Linked DNA regions of Homo sapiens: region 1 is linked to region 2. Evidence: promoter capture Hi-C in human tissues and cell types (Jung and others, 2019). All regions are on one chromosome and are shown on one strand. The core of a region is centred on a gene start or on the middle of the fragment in contact, and the rest is flanking DNA. Distances in the headings are between cores, read along the strand shown.

Region 1 (2,700 bases), core at 14-2,513, 280 kb before region 2:
GGAGACAGAGACTACTGGCCTTACAGCCAGGTGGTCAAACATGACAACTCGGAGTTGCTGTGTGCAAAACCTGCCTGAACCCCATCTCCAGCGAGATTTGATGATGTTTCCCCATTCAAAGGAACAACCACGCCTCAGGACCATACAAGGAGAGGACTTCATGAAACAGGTCACTGGCTTGGGATAGTCAATAAAGTGCTATGAACCCAGCCATATTTAAGTTATAGTTATCTTGTAAAGTATGTGTGAGGCCTCATCAAATTTGTATATAATTGACTAAGTTTTTCAAAATATCTTTTGCTCTGGAATTTTAAAAAACATACACAAAAGTGAAGAATAATATAATGGATATCAGGCATCTATTACTCAATTTTGATAATTATCAACTTTTGCTAATCTTGTTCCAAGATAGTTCCACAATGAAGCATTGTTGGTGGATTTTCTGTCACAGTATAAATGTGTCTTTGGACTATAAAATCATTTGGTAGATATTCTAGAGAAAAAAATGCCTGCACACTGCATAATTATAGGGCTGGTGTTAGGTAGTTGAAATTCAGAATCTGAAATGAACATTTAGTGGAAACCTCTTACAGACTTGTGTATGAGAAGTAGGCATATAAAATTAAGAGTGCTTTCAAGATGACCAGTTAGTCTATGTATTTACTAAGTAGCAACTGTACTGGGCAGTGTGCAAGGTACATTTTTTTTTTTTAAAGGCCAGGTGCTGTGGCTTATGTCTGCAATCCCAGCACTTTGGGAGACCGAAGTGGAGGATCACTTGAGGCCAAGAGTTTGAGACCAGCCTAGGCAACATAGTGAGACCCTGCCTCTACAAAAAAAAAAAAAAAAAAGCCAGATGCAGTGACACACACCTGTAGTCCTAGCTACTTGGCAGGCTGAGCTGGGAGGAGGATTGCTTAAGCCTGGGAATTCAAGGCTGCTGTGAGCCATGATGGCACCACTGCACCACAGCGTTGGTGACAGAATAAGACCCTGTATCTAAAAATCAAACAAACAAAAAAGGACAGTGTTTGTCCACAGTGGCTCATAAAATTATGAGCCCATGATGAAGTCACAGGTTATTTTCAAACATTCTTAGCAAATGAATTTTACACAAAGCCCAAACTGTGAAACTGATTAAGAAGCAGTATTTTAGTGGCATATGTTACTTTAAGTTCAATTTATAGTATTCACTTGTAGCATGAAACAGGACACAAGTTAATATGTCGAAAGTTTCTATATGTTGAATTTCATTTTTATTTTTTAAAGGGGAAATTCACATCAAACATGCAAACAACCCTGTAGCAGTGCCTCTGTGCATCATGGTACAACAGACCATTAAACATTTGAAAGGTGGTTAGTGCAACTGAGAATTGGAAGCTTTAATTTTAATTAAGCTGAAACCGAAGCTTTAATTTTAATTTAAATAGTTCCATGTGCCCATATTGGACAGTATAGCTCCAGGGTTTATTAAACCACCATTCCTGGTGATAGGATAGAGCCCAGCACAAACTAATCTGGGCAACAAATCAAAGGGCACAAGTCGCATGTAGGTTCCAAACTCAGTACATTTTAGAGAAAAGGAGTTTGATTATGTAGTAGAAGGAAGAACTGCCTGGTGGGACTCATGATCTTCCTTTAAGAGCAAGGCTCAAAGACCTGGGGAGTTTTGATTTGATGCTATGATGTCTCCTGGGGCTCAGAATATTATGAAATGAGGAGTGAATCTCTGAGTGAAAAGAACTCAAGCTGCTTGTTGCATTGCGGAATGTCTCTAAGAGGTAGAGAGGCGTCTGTTAAGTGGCTTGTATGAAGGTTTCAGAAGGTAAGATGAGCCCCAGCTTTGGGAGTTGTGTTTGCTGCCAGGAGGGTTTAGAGGCTGCCTCTAGGCAACACCCAGGGGCTCAAAGAAGACAGACGCAGAGAGCATGAGCTGCTGGTCACCTCTCTATCCCCAGAGCATCGTAGATGCTTGATAAATGTGTTAAAAATGGATGACAGTTTCAGGAATAGATTTAGGAGTAAATAAGAGATGGGCTTGAAATTTTTCTAGAAATTCTGAAAAATAGGTGCCGAGGGAAGTGCAGTGCCAGTGAGCTGCAGAGTTTGTTCAGCCTGTGCTTTCTGCCAGAGGTAATTGACATTTCTCCTCACTACGAATGCAAGCTCGACCTCCCTCCTTTCGCCCTTATCTAGTCCTGCACCAAATACTGCTGATTTTTATCTTATAAACGACTCTTGGATGGTTCTTTTCTCTGAAGCTTCTCTGCCACTGTTCTAGTTTGGTGCAAACAACCATCTTTTTGCTTGGAATACTCCAGCAGCCCCTCACTGACCTGCCCTCATCTACCTCTACTCCTTTCTAATCTCTTCACCTCTCAGCAGTCTGAGTGGTCTTTAAAAAATTCCTATCATGGCCGGGCATGGTGGCTCACACCTGTAATCTCAACACTTGGGGAGGCTGAGGTGGGAGGACTGCCTGAGCCCAGGAGTTCGACACCAGCCTGGGCAACATAGTGAGACCCTGTCTACAAAAAAAAAAAAAAGAAAGAAAGAAAGAAGGAAAAATTAAAATTAGCTGGGTTTGGTGGCCTGTGCCTGTGGTCCCAATTACTCGGGAGACTGAGGTGGGAGGATTGTTTGAACCCAGGAGGTTGAGGCTGCAGTGATCTGTGATCACACCACTGCATCCAGCCTGGG
Region 2 (2,700 bases), core at 133-2,632:
CAAGGGCGTGGCCAGCTCTGCCCAGTGGCTCTGGCCTCTCCCTGGCCACCCTCCCCACCTGTTGAGCAAGCCTGAGAAGCGCCCGTGCTGACCAGGGCAGGGGCGCTGCTGCAAGGGTCAAGGCCCACTGGGAGAGGTCCACCCTCAGGTGTGGCTTTGGGGGTCTCTAGGGGTCTGTCCAGGTCCCTGTGGTGCAGGGGTGGCTCCAGGTCTGTCCATGTGGGTCTGGCAGTGGCTGCCTGCAGCTGGTCTGCAGGGGTCTCACTGCAACTGCCTGCTGATGTGGTCATTCCCCCAGGGCCATTTGCAATAAGTGATCCCCCTTCCCTTCCACAGGAATAGGCTCTGGAGGGCTGGGCAGAAGGGGAGAGGGGCCAGGTGGGGCCCAGACCACACAATGCTCACAGGCATCAAAGGCTCCTTGTGGATGCCCCTTCCCCCAATCCAGCTTGTGCTGGGACCACCAGCCAAAAGCAGTCCCCAGGAGCTCTAGCCCTGCCCCCACCATTGGAGTTGTCCATCTCCTTGTCCCTGTGACCTTCCCTGTACGTCTTCTCTTCCACGTTAGCACCTGCAGCTCTCCAGATGCAATGTTCCTCTCCCAGTTCACCCTGCCTGCCCAGTGGGCTAGAGCCCCCAGGGCTGTGGGAGGGAACTGCTAGGAGACCCCTGCCGGGCCCAGGGCCCTTTCTTCTTCCCTCTCCCAGCCCAACACCAAGTACCCCAAAGATCAGGAAAGAGGAATCCACACCCACCCCCATCTTTCTTTTCCCTTCCCTCCAGGCCAGGGATGGCAAACACAGGCAGAGGCACCACGGTCTTCCTCCTTGCGCCCCTGGCAGACATCACTAATCAATCACAGCAACCTTTTTGCACAGAGCCTGGCTGCCACCTTCATGGTCTCCACCTACATCTCCAGGTGGCCAATATCAGGATCCACGTCGGCCCTCAGGGTGAAGTCCCTGTGCCAGTCCCACTTTGATCTAACCCCCCAACCAGGCCCCTCATCCTGGCCTATCCAGAGGTCGCCTGAGCACAGCCAGCTGTGGTTCTCTCTCTGTCCCATTAGGCTGAAGCCACACAGTTCCCGGAGCTTGGGCCCAGGAGGCAGTCGAAGGCACTGGGGTGTTGACCCCAAGTCCCAAGGCCACAAAGAATCTGGTTGGTTTGCCGTCGGTCCTGAGGGCAGCCGCTGCCACTTCTGGGGAAAGTGTGGTGGGGGGGCCAGGGGTGATGCTCTGTGCCCAGCACCTGTGCAGCAGCAGCACCTTGCAGGCACATCTCCCAGTCCTGATAGAGTCTGCACGCCCACCTCCCCGGCTCGGCCACTGGGCAAGCAGGAGGTGAGGAGTGGACGGCCCGCCCAGGGAGGGGCGGCCGCCCAGCACCCCGGGGCTGCGCACTGCAGCTCCCCAGGCCACCCACCACCCTTCTGGTCTCTGAGCCCAGGATGCGAGGATGGCCAGACCATCTCTGTGCACCCTGGTGCCTCTGGGCCCTGAGTGCTTGCGCCCCTTCACCCGGGAGTCACTGGCAGCCATAGAACAGCGGGCGGTGGAGGAGGAGGCCCGGCTGCAGCGGAATAAGCAGATGGAGATTGAGGAGCCCGAACGGAAGCCACGAAGTGACTTGGAGGCTGGCAAGAACCTACCCATGATCTACGGAGACCCCCCGCCGGAGGTCATCGGCATCCCCCTGGAGGACCTGGATCCCTACTACAGCAATAAGAAGGTCTGGGCCTGGGAAGGCTTCCTCTGTCTGTCTGCCATCCATCCATCTGTCTGCCTGTCTGTCTGTCCCTGGGTCTCACAGCCTCTCTCCCACCTTAGACCTTCATCGTACTCAACAAGGGCAAGGCCATCTTCCGCTTCTCCGCCACACCTGCTCTCTACCTGCTGAGCCCCTTCAGCGTAGTCAGGCGCGGGGCCATCAAGGTGCTCATCCATGCATATCCTGCCCAAGATGGGAGAGGCGGGAGGGGTTAGGGATGGGCGAGATGGGGTGCTGTGGCCCAGGAGACCCTCTATCACCTCCCATCCTAGCTGCTTCCTCACTTTCCTTGACCCTGCCCCACGCTGTTCAGCATGTTCATCATGATCACCATCTTGACCAACTGCGTATTCATGACCATGAGTGACCCGCCTCCCTGGTCCAAGAATGTGGAGTAAGTCTCCCTGCTCCCTGAGCTCCCCAGCCCTGGGACACAGCCCATCTCAGGTGTTTGCACCTCTGTGTGGTGCTGCTCTTGTCTTTCAGGGAGACACACTGTCATTGTGACCCTCATCCACACCTTGAGTCCCTGGGGTGGCCATGCTATCACTCGCTAGTGTCCTTAGCCACCTGAGTGGCATATTTCATTTCTGTGTCCCTCCCTTCTGGGGGTCTGTCGTTGCCACACTGACCCCTACCCAGGTGACATGCCTGTCCCGGCCGGCCCTCTCCCCCCCAGGTACACCTTCACAGGGATCTACACCTTTGAGTCCCTCATCAAGATACTGGCCCGAGGCTTCTGTGTCGACGACTTCACATTCCTCCGGGACCCCTGGAACTGGCTGGACTTCAGTGTCATCATGATGGCGTGAGCAGGGGCCCCAGGACATCCTGAGGCTGGGGTGGGTGAGGGGAGGGGGCCAGGCCTTAAAGAGGGAAGCTGCCTGGGCTGAGGGCTGCAGGGGACATCGGTCAGTTGTGCAGATGGGG

The links. Contacts are between HindIII fragments. The study calls those that stand out against the background at their distance.
Region 1: a contact is called between a fragment that was not itself captured here and the fragment with the promoter of SCN4A in region 2, in 3 of the 25 tissues and cell types used here (mesendoderm cells, spleen and thymus).

The regions. Positions count from the first base shown.
Region 1 is chr17:64,253,180-64,255,879 of GRCh38, reverse strand. The region is part of intron 1 of TEX2 (testis expressed 2); the gene reads left to right. Among named protein-coding and RNA genes, the nearest start is that of TEX2, 8.7 kb to the left of the region's middle. The HindIII fragment of the contact is 4,207 bases long and covers 1-2,700 here.
Region 2 is chr17:63,971,600-63,974,299 of GRCh38, reverse strand. SCN4A (sodium voltage-gated channel alpha subunit 4) reads left to right here and starts at 1,382. Exons shown (of 24, transcript NM_000334.4): 1 at 1,382-1,731; 2 at 1,830-1,948; 3 at 2,075-2,164; 4 at 2,450-2,578. The coding sequence starts at 1,459. The HindIII fragment of the contact is 21,993 bases long and covers 1-2,700 here.